Regions from separate parts of the Homo sapiens genome. Here all the other regions are linked to region 3. The links are contacts of gene promoters, found by promoter capture Hi-C in human tissues and cell types (Jung and others, 2019). All regions are on one chromosome and are shown on one strand. Each heading gives the region's core, a stretch centred on a gene start or on the middle of the fragment in contact. The rest is flanking DNA. Distances are from core to core; before and after follow the strand shown. Region 1 overlaps GRID2 (glutamate ionotropic receptor delta type subunit 2). Region 2 has its middle 50 kb from the start of ATOH1. Region 3 holds the start of ATOH1 (atonal bHLH transcription factor 1).

Region 1 (3,331 bases), core at 5-2,504, 64 kb before region 3:
GAGTGACCTATGTGGGATTAGAAATTTGCGTCCAACTTTCAGCAACCTGTTTTGTAACAAATAAATTAATTTGAAAATCATTTCCTAGAGTAGTGACTAAAAATGGTAAGGGATCAAAAATTAGTGTGAGTCTCAAACACAAATGAGGCTAAAAAGGCTCTTCAAGATGAATGCCTAAACCTGTTGGATTTCTTTAATTTTAATATGAAAGAAGGATCTTTTGATTCCTCTACTCCCTTCCCCTGAAATTTCCTCATTTATACCAATAAAGAAATCAGTGCAATTTTCAAATTGCAATTAAGTTTTATGGACTTCTAAAATTTTTCTGTTCAATGGGATCACAAATGTTTTAATATTTTGGATGAAAAAAAGGAAATGAGATGTCCGTGTCAGTGAATCAATCATTCATTGATCATATGGGCATGTAATTCTCCATTAAGAAGTATGTACCGGAACAGGTCCAAAGAAAGAACAATAGTGATACATGTGACAATAATAAGTCTAGCTTTAGAGTTGCAATAGCCTTCCGCGTGCCAGGTAATGAGCTTTTCATGCATCTTGCTCACTGAGATCGTCACGTGTGGTCTTATTAATTCACACCACAATGACCCTCAAAAGTAAGTGTTGTTATGCATCACCATGGTGTAAAAATAGCAGGAATTTTTCTGACTATACTCCAAAAAGAGATTTTAGCCGTTAGTTCATCACAGTCTAATAGCTAAACTTATTTCTAATAGTTTAAGTATTTACAGCCCCACAAAGTCTATACTTCAGCACTTCAATCCCATAGATTAACAATAACCACAGTAACTCTTTGCTCTCTATGAGCAAATACTGCCATCTTGTGGAAATTGCACGCCAAACAGAACATTATTGTTCCATAAACTCAAAAGTTTTTCTTGTGTTTATTAAGAATTTTGCAACTCAATTTTTGCATTGTCATACATACGCGCACACACACACACTCGCACACATACATACACATTATTGTTGCTTATAATTACAAGGTACAATTCTTTAGATTTTCAAGTTCAATTTAAAAGGGCCAGTGCTTTGGGAAGATTGAAGGGAACATATCTCTTTGCTTATTATAAGAATTCATCCTATTCATCTTCCAGGCAGTGCATTATATTTTACCACACTTGCTTTACATAATCTTTAAATTGGGTTTTTGTTAAATCATAAAAAGGAGGCCATAGTGAGACCATTCTGATGGAATTTCCAGGAACACTAGATTTTGTAGCAAAATGTTATGACAGAACTCTGGACTTAGAGAACACTTTCATTCCCTTCCAACACTTGTAGCCCATGCCAGCCTGTATTCCTGGAATCTGTTGTCAGGGGTGACTGAGGGGTCAGATGGTCCAATTTCTCTGTACATCCCCAAAGATGAAATCTCCCTGCAATGCCCCAGCCACTTGTGCTGCCGTGAGCATAAAATAAACAATACAAAGAGATTTTTGTGGCATATTCGTACTTGAAGCACCTAGAGAGGGTGCTTCCTTCTTTCCCCTCGATGATCTCCTATCGCTCAGCTGGCTGAACCTAAAAATTCTGCAATTAAATGATTTTTTTTGGGTTTAAGGCTTTTAATTCCTATTAGAATTTAAATAGGTGAGGTATTATATATATATATATATATATATATGAGGCATATATATATATTTCAATAATGATTTCTAAAGTCAAAATATTTTCCAAGTTTAGAAAGAATAAGGAGACAAAATTAAATAAAATGAAATGCAAGGGCCCCAAATACCACTGAGAAGAAAGTGTAGGCAGTAATTAAGTTCCTGAATGAAGGAAGGAATAAATGAACATGAATTGAGGGCATTAAAAAAATGGCTTCACAGTGTCACTCAAGCCTCTCCGGTGGAATGTGCAGTCGTGGTTTAGAATAAATTTTGTACCCAAGGAAATGTCTGGAATGAAGTCATTCTTCAACTGTTTATTAAATGGATAGATGAATAAAACAGGAATGGAATAAATTAGAAAACAGCATCAATCGTAAGAAAAAAGAATAGGATCTGATATCAGAGTTTAGGATTCATTTACCAAAACTGTGTTGAGTATATTCCATCAATAAATATGCACCTGCTCTGTAGGAGGCAATATGGAGGATGAGTACACACTCTCGAAAATGGAACAGACTGATCAAGTAATTATAAATGATGATAAGTGCTATGAAGGAAAATTCTTACACTTTCACAGTGTATTAGTTCGTTCTCTCACTGCTATGAAGAAATACCCAAGACTGGGTAGTTTATAAAGAAAGAAGTTTAATTGACTCACAGTTCCCCATGGCTGGGGAGGCCTCAGGAAACTTACAATCATGGTGGAAGGCACCTCTTCACAAGGCAGCGGGAGAGAGAATGAGTGCTGAGCAAAGGGGAAGCCCCTTATAAAACCATCAGATCTCGTGAGACTCACTATCACAAGAACGGCATGAGGGAAACCACCCCCATGATTCAATTATCTCCACCTGTCCTGCACTTGACACGTGGAGATTATTACAAGGTGAGATTTGTGTGGGGACACGGAGCCAAACCGTATCACAAGGCTACTGACCAATATGGTGTGATGCAAATAGGAGAGCAGGATAACAGGATCTCATTTTGTGCCCAGATGTATTCTCATTAAGCAAATGTTGCTGTAGTTGCCTTTTATATCTACAAGTACTTATAAACTCAAATTTAAAAAGAATTATTTGTTCAAAGATGACTACATTTTTCCTCCAAGGTAATCAATGGTGCTCTGACTACCTAGAGCCTTTAGGTGGGCAAATACATAAGGGATGTGCCATTATTTTTTATTATTATGGTAAGAATTCTTAACATGGGTGCTATTCTATGAAAATTTTTAATGTACAATACAGTATTGCTAACTATAGTTACAATGTTGTACAGTAGTTTTCAAGAACTTTTCCCTCTTGCATAACTGAAGCTTTACACCTATCGACGAGCAATACCAACATCATTTAAATGATATTCATGAATAGGCCAGGAAAGTAATTTTGATACCATGATTACATCTTTGTGTGTTGCCTAACACAGTGCTGGAAATTTCTACAAGTAGTTGCTTCTTTGGATCAAGAGATTATTTCCCATGTGTATTTCTTAAACCTGTTACTTGGAAAGCAAAATGAGAGAAGGGGAATGAAGGTCATAAGTTTGGGAAATGCTGAGTTAAACAAAATCATGCCGTTTTCTTTTCTGCTGGTCTTCTGAGAGTCTTTAATAGGCTGACATCTTTGTAAATTCCCAAGAGTGTGTTTCTCAGAATTAATAACCACAAGGCCCTTTTCTTACAGAGGTCTTGTAGGTACTGGTTT
Region 2 (3,058 bases), core at 323-2,822, 50 kb after region 3:
ATTTCAATTGAAAGGAAATGTCAAAAATAATGTCTCTTTACATTATGTAAAGGTTACTTCATCTACTATTCATTCATCACATATAGTATACCTGAAAAAGGAAGCATGCATATCATTAAATACATATTTATAAAAATTAAGCTAAAAGAAAACTTTTTAAACCAAAAACTAGTAACAAAAACAGGTTTTGCTTGTGACCTCAACTGGGCAATGAAGCCCAATAAAAAATACTACCTCTTAATAGAACTAAATGTCTACTATAGATTTCAGGAGCGAAGCACTTTGATCCTTTGTAGGTTTTAATTATGCAGACAAAAATGACCAGAATGTAGTAGGTGTTCATTAAAACCCAAATCTTAAGATTAAAGATGGAGGCTACAAATACTCCTAGGCAGAAGATCTGGTTCTAAAAGACATGTAAAATGTAGGCAAAACATAAATCAAACTGAAAATGGAGTATCATTCGAGTTGTAAACAACCTACAATTTAGAGTTTAAAATGATATGCTACAATAGTTGCTTATGCTTTCTCTAATATTACATTGTATGTATGGGGTGTTTAGGAATGCACATAATTCTTTTCATCTAACATTAGAAAAGTGTAAACATTAGAAAAGTGCCATTCCAAAATTATATTTTCATGTACAGATCTTCTAAAAATTATGTTTTAAAAGTTATAATTAGATAATGACTTGGTTACATTAAAAGAAGCTTTGGCGGGGCACGGTGGCTCACGCCTGTAATCCCAGCACTTTGGGAGGCCGAGATGGGCGGATCACGAGGTCAGCAGATCGAGACCTTCCTGGCTAACACCGTGAAACCCCATCTCTACTAAAAATACAAAAAAAAATTAGCCAGGCATGGTGGCGGGCGCCTGTAGTCCCAGCTAATCGGGAGGCTGAGGCAGGAGAATGGTGTGAACCCAGGAGGCGGAGCTTGCAGTGAGCCGAGATCGCGCCACTGCACTCCAGACTGGGCGATAGAGCAAGACCCTGTCTCAAAACAAAACAAACAAACAAACAAACAAAAAGAAGCTTTAAGAGAAGAAAATTGAATTTTGTTAGGAAAATAAAAATAAGTTAATTTAAGAATCTACTTGTTTTCACAATCACATCTCAATTTTTCAGGGATCGTCCATTATCCCCTCTTCCCTCAAATTACAAATCTAAAAAACTGAACAAACAGACAAAAAAGCTTTCCACATTCTTGTTCTCCTATATATACTACCCTGGTTTTCAATTTTTGTCCAGATCTAAATTTCTTTTAAATGGTCTCTACTCTTTAACTTTCTTCCACCTCTAACTCACTTCTCAACTCAGTGTAATTTGACTTTCACCCTATCACTGCACTGAAAGTTCACTGTAAGGACAAGTTAACCTCCTAAGTGACAGAGCTAATGGACACTGTTTAATCCTGAAACACTGACCTCCTGACTGCTGTTGCAACTCTTTCTTTGTAGGTTTTCATTTCACCAACACCTTTTCCTTGATTTTCTTCATTCTCTGTGGCAACTTTTCCTCATTCCTCTGTCAGTCTTCTCACATAATTCATTCTACGTGGGTAATCCCATTTATATCAGTGACTTTACAATTCATATGCTGATCACTCTCACTTCCATAACTCCACACTAACCTTTCTCCTGGGCTTCAGGCTTATATTTCATAATACTCTCAAGATTTCTTCATGTGGATATTACAGACTTCCCTAACTTAACTCATCCAAAGTCATTTTTTGTCCTCAGCTCCCCTCAATGCCTTGTTTACTTTTATCCCTGTACAAGATTAGTGAGTTGCATCTTTACAATGTTCTAAACTGGAAAATTGTGAGAGATCCTTGATTCTTTTCTCTCCCTCAAACTTAATATTCATTAGATCACTAAAACCCTATTAATTTTATCACAAATATAGAGTCTTTGCCTAGCCCCATTGTCAATGTCGCAGCCTGTACTGTTATTTATTCACTAGTTGCAGAAAAAATTGCTATAGCTACAGACTTGGTCTGTTTCTTGAATTATTTCATGCTCCCGTCTCCACACTAAGGACACAGTTATTTTCTAGAAAAACAAAAGGAGGTCTGGGCACGATGGCTCATCCCTGTAATCCCAGCACTTTGAGAGGCCAAGGCGGGCAGATCGCCTGAGGCTAGGAGTTTGAGACCAGCCTGGCCAACATGGTGAAAACTCATCTCTACTAAAATACAAAAATTAGCCAGGTGTGGTGGAAGGTGCCTGTACTCCCAGCTACTCAGAAGGCTGAGGCATGAGAATCACTTGAACCTGGGAGGCAGAGGTTGCAGTGAGCCAAGATTGCACCACTGCACTCCAGCCTGGGCGATGGAGCAAAACTGTCTCAAAAACAACAACAGCAACAACAACAACAACAAAAAACGGTGGACAGACCTCAGTTTCAGACACCATGCCATCAAACAAGCTTAAACCATTGTTGATATGCTCTTGCCTGCAGGAGGACATTCAGTGCCTTTGCCTCTCACATAAATACTTTACAATCAATCAGATCCCTGCCCATTTCTCTAGCCTCATTTTCCATCTCTCTCCCTTTCCAACCGTATTCTTTTACCATTCCAAAATATCTTCCATTCTCTAAATGACCACAGGCAGCTCTAGATTTATATTCGTCATAAGGTGCAACCCCAGAGAAAAGAAAGTCCCTCTTTTTCATTATTTCCCCAGCAGGGCCCTGGGGAGCTTCTGAGTGGCTCTGCGTGGGTGACTTGACTGTTGAACCAATCTCTGTGGCCAAGGAAATGCACTACTCTGATTACATAGACTAGGTCATGTGTCCACCTTTGTGGGGAGAAGTCTGCTCCACCTAAGTTTCATAGATTAGCTCTTCCATAATAAAGAGGAGTCCTGTTACCAGAAGCAGGGGAAGAAAACAGTCGAAAAGGAGCTGCTGCAAAGAAAGGGGAAGAATAGGGTGTCCCCAACGTGTACTTTCAGGAAGCACATGATAGTTTCTCAGCATCACACCTCCAGTCACCTCTCCACCTCATGTAAGTGGGCATTCAACTAAGAATAGGGAGCAAATTCCAATCTTAGC
Region 3 (3,241 bases), core at 365-2,864:
GTATCTTTATAGGATATGTCCAGTCCAGTCCCAGAAAATCTACTGCCCAAGGAGTTCTAGATGACAGGTTAGATCAAGCCCCGGCAAATGTTTGCGAAAACAACATTCAACTGCCTCTGGACATTGCAAAGACATATTCCAGGGAGCTATCTCTTGGGCTCTTTTTTAACATCTCTCCTAGAGGATGAGACTCCTTTCGGGATTACAGCCACTGGGAAAGTAAAAGCAACAGTAGCATCAACAGGTTGCATCGCACTCCCGCGCCCCAGGGGCGGTGCAGGAGAGCGCCCGGAGCCAGAGCCAGGGCGCGCTGGGCGCAAGCTGGGGCGCGCCCAGGGCCAATGAGCTTCTGATTGGCTCTTTGCTGTGAATAGACTAGGCCGAGGCTAATAGGACCGGAGGGGGCGTTCACCTGGGAATTGGCCTCCCCCCCTTGCCAAGGACCTCCCTGATTGTATGGGGCGGAGTGGGGTGGGGGTGGGGGCTGGAAAGGGGAAGCCCACCCTAACTAAACGGAGGGGCGGGAGGAGGTTAAACTGAGGAAGCCACGAGCCCGCAGTAAAGAGAGGGCGATCGAGGCAAAAGGGTAGGTAACTTGGGACTTCTGTGCCTTGAAAGTGTTAAGGATTGCAGGGAATGCAGGCGCCTTTCATTTTACTTTGGGCACCCTCCCCTGGCTGGGCATTTAATGAGGAGTCCTACTGTGTGTGTTGAAACTCTGCATAATACCGTAAAATATTCTGGCCCTAAATTACACTCAACGGAGAGATTTAGGCAGATTACAATCCTAATTGGCCGCAGGGTGCTGGGGAAAGGGGACAGAGAGAATTGGGGGATCTGGAATTTGGTGTGCTATCACTACACCGCAGCTCTATTTTCCATTAAGAAAAAGATCATATGACGAAGTCGAACTAAGAGATCTGAAGTAAAAAATGAAAAGATGGAGCAAAAGTAAGAAACATACTCTGAGACGAGTGGGTTTTCCCCCTTTATTCCAACAGCAATCTTAAATGATGGACGTCATGTAGCAGTTATATATCTATGAACATGCATGAGAGATTTATAAATACCTGCATACATAAATACAAACATCCTATTATACATGAGAAATCGTAAATGCTTGGGCATCAGAAGTGGGAGCTGTGATCCTAGCTTGGGGGCAGCACAGGGTAGGCGGCCTTCTCTCTGCTTTGAGTGGCTTCTGGGCGCCTGGCGGGTCCAGAATCGCCCAGAGCCGCCCGCGGTCGTGCACATCTGACCCGAGTCAGCTTGGGCACCAGCCGAGAGCCGGCTCCGCACCGCTCCCGCACCCCAGCCGCCGGGGTGGTGACACACACCGGAGTCGAATTACAGCCCTGCAATTAACATATGAATCTGACGAATTTAAAAGAAGGAAAAAAAAAAAAAAACCTGAGCAGGCTTGGGAGTCCTCTGCACACAAGAACTTTTCTCGGGGTGTAAAAACTCTTTGATTGGCTGCTCGCACGCGCCTGCCCGCGCCCTCCATTGGCTGAGAAGACACGCGACCGGCGCGAGGAGGGGGTTGGGAGAGGAGCGGGGGGAGACTGAGTGGCGCGTGCCGCTTTTTAAAGGGGCGCAGCGCCTTCAGCAACCGGAGAAGCATAGTTGCACGCGACCTGGTGTGTGATCTCCGAGTGGGTGGGGGAGGGTCGAGGAGGGAAAAAAAAATAAGACGTTGCAGAAGAGACCCGGAAAGGGCCTTTTTTTTGGTTGAGCTGGTGTCCCAGTGCTGCCTCCGATCCTGAGCCTCCGAGCCTTTGCAGTGCAATGTCCCGCCTGCTGCATGCAGAAGAGTGGGCTGAAGTGAAGGAGTTGGGAGACCACCATCGCCAGCCCCAGCCGCATCATCTCCCGCAACCGCCGCCGCCGCCGCAGCCACCTGCAACTTTGCAGGCGAGAGAGCATCCCGTCTACCCGCCTGAGCTGTCCCTCCTGGACAGCACCGACCCACGCGCCTGGCTGGCTCCCACTTTGCAGGGCATCTGCACGGCACGCGCCGCCCAGTATTTGCTACATTCCCCGGAGCTGGGTGCCTCAGAGGCCGCTGCGCCCCGGGACGAGGTGGACGGCCGGGGGGAGCTGGTAAGGAGGAGCAGCGGCGGTGCCAGCAGCAGCAAGAGCCCCGGGCCGGTGAAAGTGCGGGAACAGCTGTGCAAGCTGAAAGGCGGGGTGGTGGTAGACGAGCTGGGCTGCAGCCGCCAACGGGCCCCTTCCAGCAAACAGGTGAATGGGGTGCAGAAGCAGAGACGGCTAGCAGCCAACGCCAGGGAGCGGCGCAGGATGCATGGGCTGAACCACGCCTTCGACCAGCTGCGCAATGTTATCCCGTCGTTCAACAACGACAAGAAGCTGTCCAAATATGAGACCCTGCAGATGGCCCAAATCTACATCAACGCCTTGTCCGAGCTGCTACAAACGCCCAGCGGAGGGGAACAGCCACCGCCGCCTCCAGCCTCCTGCAAAAGCGACCACCACCACCTTCGCACCGCGGCCTCCTATGAAGGGGGCGCGGGCAACGCGACCGCAGCTGGGGCTCAGCAGGCTTCCGGAGGGAGCCAGCGGCCGACCCCGCCCGGGAGTTGCCGGACTCGCTTCTCAGCCCCAGCTTCTGCGGGAGGGTACTCGGTGCAGCTGGACGCTCTGCACTTCTCGACTTTCGAGGACAGCGCCCTGACAGCGATGATGGCGCAAAAGAATTTGTCTCCTTCTCTCCCCGGGAGCATCTTGCAGCCAGTGCAGGAGGAAAACAGCAAAACTTCGCCTCGGTCCCACAGAAGCGACGGGGAATTTTCCCCCCATTCCCATTACAGTGACTCGGATGAGGCAAGTTAGGAAGGTGACAGAAGCCTGAAAACTGAGACAGAAACAAAACTGCCCTTTCCCAGTGCGCGGGAAGCCCCGCGGTTAAAGATCCCCGCACCCTTTAATTTTTGCTCTGCGATGGTCGTTGTTTAGCAACGACTTGGCTTCAGATGGCAGCTACATTTGATGGTTTGCAAATGCCGCCGCTGTTCCAAACTTCCTACGGTCCATATTGTTTGATGAAAACTTTCTGTTAAAATTGTGTCCTTTCCGCCCACCTTCTGCTCCCCCTTTAGATAGATACGGTATAATTGTAGGTACCCGTATATGGCATCATTATTCTAGTTCCCTGCTGCCAATACGCTGCTAAAACGTCGCATCTTCTCTGTCACTGGTTTGGGTTTAATTTATTTTACGC

The links. The method cuts DNA at HindIII sites, captures the fragments that hold promoters and counts their contacts. A contact is called where the count stands out against the background at its distance.
Region 1: a fragment that was not itself captured here is called in contact with the fragment with the promoter of ATOH1 in region 3 in 2 of the 25 tissues and cell types used here (adrenal gland and aorta).
Region 2: a fragment that was not itself captured here is called in contact with the fragment with the promoter of ATOH1 in region 3 in 5 of the 25 tissues and cell types used here (H1 embryonic stem cells, adrenal gland, dorsolateral prefrontal cortex and 2 more).

Annotation. Positions count from the first base shown.
Region 1 is chr4:93,763,986-93,767,316 of GRCh38, forward strand. The region is part of intron 14 of GRID2 (glutamate ionotropic receptor delta type subunit 2); the gene reads left to right. Among named protein-coding and RNA genes, the nearest start is that of ATOH1, 63 kb to the right of the region's middle. The HindIII fragment of the contact is 6,409 bases long and covers 1-3,331 here.
Region 2 is chr4:93,877,406-93,880,463 of GRCh38, forward strand. No RefSeq gene overlaps it. Among named protein-coding and RNA genes, the nearest start is that of ATOH1, 50 kb to the left of the region's middle. The HindIII fragment of the contact is 5,081 bases long and covers 1-3,058 here.
Region 3 is chr4:93,827,139-93,830,379 of GRCh38, forward strand. It overlaps ATOH1 (atonal bHLH transcription factor 1), which reads left to right and starts at 1,615. Exons shown (of 1, transcript NM_005172.2): 1 at 1,615-3,241. The coding sequence starts at 1,789. The coding sequence ends at 2,853. RefSeq lists an enhancer at 1-437. The HindIII fragment of the contact is 12,246 bases long and covers 1-3,241 here.